3 separate regions of the Homo sapiens genome follow, and regions 1 and 3 are each linked to region 2. The links are contacts of gene promoters, found by promoter capture Hi-C in blood cells and fetal thymus (Javierre and others, 2016). All regions are on one chromosome and are shown on one strand. Each heading gives the region's core, a stretch centred on a gene start or on the middle of the fragment in contact. The rest is flanking DNA. Distances are from core to core; before and after follow the strand shown.

The links. The method cuts DNA at HindIII sites, captures the fragments that hold promoters and counts their contacts. A CHiCAGO score of 5 or more calls a contact.
Region 1: a fragment that was not itself captured here is called in contact with the fragment with the promoter of SLC12A2 in region 2 in 6 of 17 cell types (naive CD8 T cells, total CD8 T cells, megakaryocytes and 3 more); the score reaches 8.1 in naive CD8 T cells.
Region 3: a contact is called between a fragment that was not itself captured here and the fragment with the promoter of SLC12A2 in region 2, in 2 of 17 cell types (non-activated CD4 T cells and total CD4 T cells). The highest score is 7.0, in non-activated CD4 T cells.

What each region holds. Positions count from the first base shown.
Region 1 is chr5:127,565,854-127,569,356 of GRCh38, reverse strand. It overlaps LOC124901058 (a long non-coding RNA gene), which reads left to right. Exons shown (of 2, transcript XR_007058924.1): 1 at 1-131. Among named protein-coding and RNA genes, the nearest start is that of PRRC1, 50 kb to the right of the region's middle. RefSeq lists a silencer at 1,978-2,037. The HindIII fragment of the contact is 792 bases long and covers 1,258-2,049 here.
Region 2 is chr5:128,081,787-128,085,228 of GRCh38, reverse strand. SLC12A2 (solute carrier family 12 member 2) reads right to left here and starts at 1,463. Exons shown (of 27, transcript NM_001046.3): 1 at 519-1,463. The coding sequence starts at 1,274. SLC12A2-DT (SLC12A2 divergent transcript) reads left to right here and starts at 2,054. Exons shown (of 4, transcript NR_152813.1): 1 at 2,054-2,259. RefSeq lists an enhancer at 310-479 and a silencer at 970-1,799. The HindIII fragment of the contact is 20,683 bases long and covers 1-3,442 here.
Region 3 is chr5:127,532,264-127,535,723 of GRCh38, reverse strand. PRRC1 (proline rich coiled-coil 1) reads right to left here. Exons shown (of 9, transcript NM_130809.5): 6 at 1,938-2,101. Among named protein-coding and RNA genes, the nearest start is that of PRRC1, 16 kb to the right of the region's middle. The HindIII fragment of the contact is 924 bases long and covers 1,612-2,535 here.

The DNA of each region.
Region 1 (3,503 bases), core at 404-2,903, 520 kb after region 2:
GCCGCCAAAGTGGGAGCCCAGGCAAAGGAGGCGCCAAGAGCGAGCGAGGGCTGTGAGGACTGCTAGCACGCTGTCACCTCTCAATATGGTCCAACCAAGGTCAACTAGTTGATTGCAGCCCGATTTCACAGGTTAGTTTTTAAAAGTACATTGCATAACTATTGTCAAAAGTGTTATTCTCTCCTTTAAAATCAACCCTTAGAGATACAAAAAAAGCATAAGAGAAAATGTCAAATCTGATTGGTGGTAGTATCTCTTTAAGATATCTAATTTGTATTATGTAGTGAATTGGCTGTTACATCTAATCAAAAAAAGCCTCTTATACTATGGGATTTTTCTCACTCATAAGATGTTGTATGGAGAACTTGCAATGTCCACAAATATCATCAATGTTTAAATTGACAAACTTCTCTCGTGTCTTAGTTGGCTTGAAGTCTTTTGGGGGAAATTTTCTTCGTTCTTTTTTTTAACTTCTTTCCTTTTGACTTTCTTCCTTTCCCTCATTTTTTTCTCCCTCCTGTATAGCTTTGGTTTTTTTTTTCTTTCCTTTTTTTTATGAAACAAGGGGAAACAAAGAGAAACTAACATCTATTGAGCACCCACTTTGGTGGTAAGTGGTTTCCAAGTATTATTTTATTATCAGTGCAGCAACGATAGGATTCCTTCCATTGGCTTAATCTGAAATATTCTGTCATGCTTCCAATCAATCCATTTTCAATTGAGATTTGTTTTTTTTTAAGTAGCAAAGGCAGTTGATTAAGTGTATTGTTTTAAGATGTCCAAGTCCTTAACATACTCAATATCTAGACAGCTGCCCTACCTGTGTGATCTAGACAGCATACAATTTGTCTTTAAGATAAAAACACACAAATATGCACACACAAAATATCTACTCTTTCTTTTGGTTCTGTGATGTGTATGCAAGGTTTTATTGGTTGTCCTGTGTCTCTCTCTCCTCCTCCTCCTCCTCCTTCCCCTCTTCTTCCACTTTCTCTTTCTCTTATGTCATACCCATCCACGATGACACCCCTGCCCTTCATTGCCTCATGCCCAAGGGCAGCTTATGGTCTTCCAACGGATGAGATCTGATGTGGCTACACAGACTTACTGATCCAAAACGGAGGGAGAGGTCTGCATTCTCTTCCAGAGATTTTACTCACTCTTCTCCATATGTTTTTTCATACCTGTCAATCCCTTTCTCTGTTGCTTTATCATAGTTTCTTCCACTTTTTTAAATCATATTGAGAAGATTAAGCTTCAAATATGCTTTTGGCCCAATAAACTTTAAAGTGAAGAGTTTTACTCTTTGCCAAAATAGCTTCTAAGATGCAGTTGGGGAAATTAACATTCGGTTGGGAGGCTTTACACCCTCATGCTCAACAGGTGTTCTCCACTGGCTTTTTAATGGTAATAACAATCCACAACTGTGGAGTTATTTGCCCCTTAATCTTCACAAAAAATAAAAGGAAGGTACTATTTATCCTCATTTTATGATAAGGAAGCATAGAGAGGTTATATAACTCTTTAAGGTTGCACTGATGGTAAACAGTGGAGCTAGAGCATGGCCCATATCTATCTGATCAAAAATCCATATCTTTCCCCTAAGCCACACTTTTCACATGTGCCAAGGGGACTCTGAAATGTTGCTCTGTCAATAAATATCTGCACACACGTACCCCACATCCTTGAATTCAGCCCCACAAGGGCTCTGTGGTGCCTTGTTTACAGGTGGTGATGATAGTAATAATAATAGTTGCTGTCGGGGACGTGACAGCTGGCTGGTGGTGTTCATAATGAAAGTTCACCTTCCCGCCACCTCCCCTAGAGCCAAGAAGATCATGGTTATCACAGTCTCAGGCCATTTTTCTTTGGGCTCCTTTACCAAGACAGTCATAGGTAAAGAAAGGTAGACTTATTAGAGGAAGCATGAAGATAATGTTGCAAGGATGCAACAAGCAGCACAGCAGAGAAGGGGCTGTCTGCAAAGATGCAGGGGCTGGAGGGAAGTTTTGTAAGGTCGTGCTGGAGAGGGCTGTGTGCAAGTAAGCTTGTGCTATGCTATATGCTAAGACTATGTTGGGGTAATTTTTAACTGTCAGCCCTTTCCTCTCCAGGTGCCCAAGGGAAATGCTTTGCTGTTGTTAGCCATTTTGCAACCCATATGCCTTCTGTTTCTGGAGTTGCAAGATATTGGTTGTGGTTTTTCACACAAAAGGGTTGCAAATGGGGTTAGATCCCTGGGTTAGGTCCAGTCCCTGTTCTACCAGCCTGGCTCCTTCCGGTTCCTTTTAACTTATTGATTTACTAGGGTCCCACGGTTACTGCTTATGCTGAATTTAACTGTCATACACTATTCTAAGTGCTTTTACATATATAAACTAATTTTACAGATGAAAATGGGGCTCAAAGTCAAATACCTACAACACAGGTGTTTCATGCTGTGAGGGTAGAGAGAAATCTTCCTCTTTGCCCACTGAGGGATTACTGAAAATGAATGGATGAAAGGCAGATTAGTACAAGAAAAAGGCATACAAAATGTATTTGAAGTGTCCAGGGGAAATCACAGTAGAGTGATTACCCAATAACCCAATGAGGCCCAGAGGCTTTCATACCCTTCTTCATAGGGGAAGGGAAGATGGTGATGAAGGAGTAACCGATTTTCCATGGAAATGAATGAGCCCAAAGAAAAATGGTCTGAGACCATGTTCCTCTGGGCTCTGGGCTCTGGGCTCTGGGGGAGGTGGCAGGAAGGTGGACCTTCATTATCAACAAAGCTTGTCTTATACAGATAGAGCCTCCCTGGTAATCTTAGTAGCTGCCTTCAGAAGAATAGATGAAAAGTTTGTCTGTCTGGGTGTGGTGACAACTCCCAGTCTCTTCTCCTGTGGTTAATCTTTCCTAGTTATTTGATGAGATTCCTAAGAACAGAGTCTTAAGACAATTGCATTTATTTTGGAAAAAAAAAGCTTCCTTAGCCAGATAAGGAAATTTGGGACAGAGTCCCTTCTGGTGCTTGGGAAAAGAGAGGATAAGAGAAACAGGTGTGAGGGGGAAGGTTCTGAGGCTTATTTCTGAGACCTTTCCATTTTCTTTCCTTCAAAGCATTCAGCATGCCAACTTACCGTATTTTGTGGTGCTGTTTTCTGTGCCTCAACAGTGCAAATTAAAGGGGCTGTCCTTTATTAAGAAAGTTTCTTCTGTATTCCAGGATTTCTCAGAGCCTTTTCCTATGCACTCTAAATTTTCTAGATGTGTTTGATGAAGGGATCCTTTGTTTGGATAGAAGCAGAGGGTTATTGTTCTGCCATACATCCTCTGGGAGATGCTGGTCTTGGCAGTCACAATTTTTCCAGGGTATGCAAGTGAATTAGTTTATCAGGCTTTTTTTCCTATTCTAGAAGGAAGCAGCAGATCTGGGGACACTGTGTGGCAGGGAAGAGTTGTCACCAAAGGGTGGTGACAATGCTGAGGGGAGGGGAGGATGGTGGTACACTTGGGTAGGT
Region 2 (3,442 bases), core at 214-2,713:
ATTGAGCTTTAATAACTCATAGACCATAAACACACCCTGTTAAGGTTTTCCTTCAAACAGCAACATTCCCACTCTTGCGATCCCTAATAGGCGTACATAAGCCACACAACACAATCTTTCAAAACGACACAGATGGTAGGTGCTCTCCAACCTCTCTCGAGAGATCCTCACTGCACATTCTCCTCTAAAGGGCCCACAAACACTACTGTCATTCAGAGGGATGGTGACTGTTGAGCGTGGGTGGGAAAGAAAGTGCACACGAGATACCTAACTGGATGGGGAAGGTTGTTAGAGGCAGCCCTCCGGTATCACGTAACTAGCCAAACCCGCTACAAACTTTTGAGAGATTAAGTTAACATTCCTCGGCAATTCCACCCTTGACAGCTGAATCCAGAGATGCCAGCAAGTCGTGCACGTCTACTACTCCCGCCACCTCAACTCGGGAAGAGTCTGCAGCCACATCCCGCGGTCGGCATGCACCAGGGGCTGGGGAAGAAGGGAGGGCTGGGCGAGCTCACCTTTTCCAGCTCGTCGTGGAGCTCCGCCAGGCTAGGCCGGAGCAGCTTCTCGCCCAGCTGCGCGGCTGTGTGCCGGTAGTGATCGATCCTGGGCACAGCGTCCATGGTGTTGTGGCCGAAGGTGCGCAGGTAGTAGGTGTTGGTGTGGGTATCATAATAGTAGTGCTGGTGGTGCCCACTGCCGCCGCCGCCGCCGGAGTGCAGGCTGCTGCCCTCGCTCAGCACCGTGTCCCCGCCGTTCTGGAAGCTCACGTTGGGCCCGTCGACTCCGACCCCGGCAGCATCTGACAGGCTGTCTTCAGCCGACGAGGAGGCAGCTGGGTCCACGAAGTTCACGCGGAAGCGGCCCTTGGCTTCCTCGCTGCCTTTAGCCGGCTCGCTCTCGCCGCTGGCTTCCCCGTCCGCGGGGGTCTGCTTGGCCCCCGCCCCAGCACCAGCCGCCGCCGCTGCCGCCGCCGCCGCCGCCGCCGCAGCAGCGGCCCGCCCGGCGTTCTCGGAAACCAGGTCCACCTGGAAACGGCTCTGGCTCGGGGTGGGCCCCAAGGGTCTGCCCAGCCCGTCCCCGGCCGCCGCGGGGCCCTCATCGCGGACCCCGCCGCCGTCCCGGCTCGCGGGCGCAGCATCCTCCGGCACCGAGGGCACAGCCGTGCCGGGCAGTTCCACCCTGGCTGCGGCCAGCGCAGCGGCTGACGGCGTCTCCCCGACCCCGGCCAGTCCCGGGGCGCCGGAGGAGGGCGCCGTGGGCCGCGGCTCCATAGCTGCCCGACCCCCGGCGGAACTGCAGAGCCCGGCGGACGTCTCCGGCAGCACGCCCTCCACACCCCTGGCCGGCGGTGGCCACAGCCGCAAGACCAGGTGAGAGAGTCTTTCTCCCCGCCGCCTGCGGGCCGCCGCTAGCCTGGACGGCCACAGAGGCCACCGGCAGCCGAGCGAGCGCGCGAGTGTGGCGGGCGCGGGGCGGGCCCCGCTGTTTAAAGCCTCGGCGGGGCTGCGGCGGCGGCGGCTCCGGCAGCAGCACGCGGGAGGCGGGGCCGGAGGCTCCTCCGCCCCTCAGCCCGCCCACCCGCGGTCCCGCAGCGGCGCGCGGCTGACGCTCCCTCAGCGATCCGGCCCTCCGCGGCTCCTGCGCGACCCCACGCAAAAGCGCCCCGTGCGAAGAGCGCGGCCAGCCAGTCCGCAAAGGGCCTCGGGCAGTGCGGGCAGCACGAACGGCGCGATCGGGGAGCAGGCGCGGCTACGCTCCGCCTCAGTGATGTCGCCGGGAGGATCTCCGCGCGGCTACCTCCTCTTCCGCCGCCTTCCTCCCACGCCTTCACCTCCCTCCCCCGCCGCGCTCTGCGGCGAAAAGGAGCGGGCTCCCAGGCCACCTCCCCTCTCTCCACCCAGGGGCCGCGCGTCAGTGGACCTGCAGCCCAGGCAACGGGGCTGCGGACGGCGCGCGTGCCCTGCCTCGCCTCACGCCGGTAGCTGATGCTCCCGCGGCAGCTGCCACCCCAGCGCCCCAGCCACGGCTTCAGAGGCTCTCGCACGCTGGCTTTTTTTTTTTCCCCCCGCTTTGGTGAACTCGCAGTACTTGGGCTGAGCCCGAAATCTCGCGAGATGCTGCAGGCGTCAGTGCGGCTTCCCACTAGGCGCGTGGTACCCGAGGCCGGGCCGGAGCCGCAGGCCAGCCGCGATTCCTTCGGGCGATGCTGGGGGCTTTCCGGTCGGGGCCGCAGCCGCTTCCGGAGCCGCGGGCGAGGTGCGTTCCCCAGCCTGGTTTGCTCTGGGCTCTGACCCGCCGCCGCGAATCTCCGCTCGTAACTCCGGGCCTGAACCTGGAGGAGGGAGGATTTCCTCTGTGCAGCTTTCGAGCGGTAGACTCACCCTGCCAGGCAGACCTAGATTGGCATAACCAGAGATCAGTTCCAGTTGTGATGCAGTGGGTGTCTACACACTTCTGATGACACCTTTATTTTAAAAGCTGATGTTCCAAGGTGAGAAGGGAGCTTCTTTGAGACGTCATGTTGTTTCAAGACGAGTTTTAATTTAAGGCATTTCCAAAAGTGATATGCAGCTCATCTCTCAGAATACAATGCCGGCAATAACTACCCGTGGAGTCCTTACCAGGAGGTTTCTGCGTGATTTGGGTTGTGCAGAATTCCTCTGCTTATATAGAAACAGAAAGGTACTCCTCTGCAGGTCTAGTTTCTCTTCGGTAAAATGTAAGGGAATATAACTGTGTTCCCACTTTCTTAGCAGCAGAAATTTTTAAACCTATAGATTATGCCCAAAGTCCTAAGTAAAATCAATGAATGGCGTCCTCCAATTACTTGGTTTTTATTTATGTACTTTTTTTTTTTTTTTTTGAGACGGAGTCTCGCTCTGTCGCCCAAGCTGTAGTGCAGGGGTGCGATCTTGGCTCACTGCAAACTCCGCCTCCTGGGTTCACGCCATTCTCCTCCTGCCTCAGCCTCCTGAGTAGTTGGGACTACAGGCGCCCGCCATCACGCCCTGCTAATTTTTTGTATTTTTAGTAGAGTCGGGGTTTCACCGTGTTAGCCAGGATGGTCTCGATCTCCTGACCTCGTGATCCGCCCACCTCCGCCTCTCCAAGTGCTGGGATTACAGGCATGAGCCACCGCGCCCGGCCCTTGTATTTTTAAACTTTGACTTTATGGAGACGAACACCATCGTTTGCTGAACACTTGAAACATGATGAAAGAGCCACAGAGTTGGCAGAACTGTTTGAAAATGCTGTAAGTAAAAGCTGCAACCAGGCAATTTTCAAAAAATTGTCATAAACATGATCTTACTTGAACTTGACAACTTTTCAGGCTATTTTATTATCTCTATTTTTAAAGACGGTGAGAGGGGAAAACAGCTGTTGCATCAGGATTTTTAAAGCTCCTTTTGAGCTTTAGTAATAACCAGAGGAGGCCAGA
Region 3 (3,460 bases), core at 824-3,323, 550 kb after region 2:
TATGTGCCTGGCTCAGGGGATGTTCTCAAAAAATGCAGGCTATTATAAGCTCCTTCAAATAAAACAACAGAATGTCATATATGAAAATGTGTTTCTCCTTAAACATAAATACAGTTGATCGATCCTATTAGTTTTGTGGATTCCATTGACTACACATGAAATTTATTTATAATCTCAAAATCGGACATGCACAGAGCTATGAGAAATTTGAGTTGCCTGATGCATACACTCCTAGCTGAGGCTGAACAAGGCAGTGCCCTGACTTCTTCTTTCAGCTGACACAATGTAAACAGGTATCCTTTTTGGGATCTATTTAGCACCTCTTTTTTGCATCTTTGTGTTTGTTGATGTTAACTGCTGTTTTCAAATGGCCCCCAAGTGTAGTGCTGGAGTGCTGTAGTGTTCCTAAGCACAAGAAGACAATGATGTGCCTTAATGAGAAAACGAGTGTGTTAAATAAGCTGCATTCAAGCATGAGTTACAGTACTGTTGACTGTGAGAGTTCAATATTAATGAATCAAAAATATGTGCATGTATGTGTATAAAAATGTATTTAAACAGAAAGAGGCATAAAACAAAGTTATGTATTGACAGGTTGGCAAAATGTGACCAGAGGCCCACAGTATCCTAACCATCGTATCTCCCCTGGGAGCAATGGCTCAGTATTCACAAATTCAGTCTGTAGCAACTTTATGGAACACAATTATGTTGAAAAACAAGAACTGTCTGTCTTACAAATAAGATTTCTTGATGGATTAGAAGTGGGTAATGAGAGAAGTCAGGGCTGACTCCAAGGTTTCTTGCCTGAGAAAACGGAAGGCTAGAACTGCCATCAATTAAGGTGAAGAAGGCTAGAGGGAGCAAGTGTGGAGGAAAGAAGTTTAGTTCTAGACATATTAAGTTTGAGATATTCAAGTAAACTTGTCAAAAAGGCAACTTATATATAAATCAAGAGTCTACAGGAAGGTCTCAGGTGGAGATATAAATTTGGAACTGTTAGCACAGAGACAGTATTTAAAGCCATGGGATAGTCTGAGAGTGAATTGATGAGAAGGTGACCGTCAGAAGACTGGAGAGAAGAGGAGGAATCAGCAAAGGAAGTACAGAAGGAGTGAGCAATACATGAAGGAGGGAAAAACTAAAGTGTGGAATCCTAGAAATCAAGTGAAAAAAGCATTAAAGAGAAGTGCATGATCAACTGTCTCAAAAGCCTCTGGTAAGTCCAATAAGATGGAGAACATTAGCACGAGCCTGAAAGCACTATCAGTAGAGTGCTGGACATCAAAGCCTAACTGAGGTAGACTTAACTGAATGTGAAAAGGATATGAGAAAAGTGCTGCCAACTCCTTGGAGTTTAGCTGCAAAAGGAAGCAAAATAGGTCATTAAGTTATAGAGGAAGGGAGGTCAAAGAATTTGTTGGGGTTTCCTTTGGTTTTTTCTTTTTTTTTCAAGGTGAGAAAGATGTTTGTATGCCAATGAACTGTTAATTTGTTCTTGCATGACTGTATGCTGGTAATAACACAAAGAGAGGAAAATAAAGTATGAAAGAGAGGACGGAATTCCTGGAACTTACATATTTTTAAGCATTATCAATAGGGATAATAAAAGCTTATGGGATTCAAGGGATATTATCATCTCAGTAATTGATTTGAATGTTAATGCTGGATTAAGAAGATCTCTTTTAGGACTAACTATTCCTTTTGTGCTCTCTCAATGTTTCTTTCCCTCCCACAATAATCAAAACCTATCTTAAATTTCTTTAAATTAAAACTCCACTATATCTTCATAATACGATAGGGCTGTCTACTAAAAGCAAAGTTCATTGTTATTTCAGTATGTAAAAGTCTATTAGCTCCATAGAGACAACAGATTATCAGAATTGTGAAAAAATTAAATGCCAGTTTCCATGTCCTGAAAATGGTGTTCTGTTACTCACTTTTAATCCAGCTGCATAGCCCACTGGTTGTGGGGCAATATTGGACTGTCCAGCTTCCCCTACAACCACAGCTAAGCCAAAGACCTCCTGGAAGGCATCTCGGACAGCAGCAACTTTTACTTCTTTATTTGAGGTCACTACAATATCCAGTTCACCTCCAGATTCTAAAAAGACCAGAGGAAAATTTAACTTTCAAATTAAAATAATGAAATTCTCATAATTACTACCATACCAGGTGCTAACATCTAATATACATAATTATTACCAGTTTCATAAAACCATGCAAGATATAGATCATTATCTTTTTTATATGCTTGAGAAAACTGAGGCCAACAAAGTTTTGCCCAAGGTAACGTATCTACTTAGCACTAATGTCAGGACTCAAAACTGACATTACATATCACAAGCCAGAAATCACATATCTGGCTTGTGAAGTGTAAGTTACATATTTAGTATACTCCACGGAAAATTAAAATAAAGACTTACTGATAGTAAGTGATTTGTCAATGAGTTGCAGAGAAGTTATGTACTAAACAAGCACTACCATGAAATATACTTTTTAACCTAGAAAATAGTTTAAATATGGGGTCATCAAGCTTTTTATTAAATATCCCCACAATGTTCTGAGCATACACCACAAATAGATATTTATCAATTATACATGTACTACTGCCCTAATATAAATATGCAAGCATATATGAAATTGAAATAACACATAAAACTTAAAATTTAAAATATTAAGAGTAATACGAAATAAAAATATTTTCAAATATTTTTAATTTTTCAATTACTTAAACAACCTAAGTACTACTATTTCTAGACAGATCAATTTGACCAAATGTTTCATTATTTTTAAAAATCTTAACCAAACATTTCTGTGATATAATGAATTCAAAGCCCTTGTTCTAAACACAGCACATTTTGATATTTGGCATTAATAGTTATCACCGGCAAAAGAGATTTTTCATGAAAATTGTTTATAATGTAAAACATTTTGCCCTAGAAACAAGGTTGTTTTTCCCTAATAAATATCATGTGGAACAGGGAAAGATATTTTCAAATATTTGGGTTTTAAAAATAATGGATCCCTTTTTCCTGACTGACATAATGTCTCACAGATCACATCTGTACTGGATACTTCAGAAGTTACTAGGACATAAAAGAGAAGAAGAATATACTTTTTTTTTCACTTTTTTCCTCCACATGGGACACATCTCTCGACCTTAGCTAAGTACTGCTCCATTAAGCTTCAGCTCAAAATGGCTTTTCAGCTTGTGATGAGTAGTCCTGCCATTTCTAATACTTTTTGAGTTTCTTGACACATACGAAATTGTTACATCAAATGATTTCTAGAATATTTGTGTAAAAATACCTTAAGATGGCCGGGCGCGGTGGTTCACGCCTGTAATCCCAGCACTTTGGGAGGCCTAGGCGGGAGGATCAAAAAGTCAAGAGATCGAGATCATCCTGGCCAACATGGTGAAACCCCATCTCTACTAAAAATACAAAAATTAGCTGGGCAT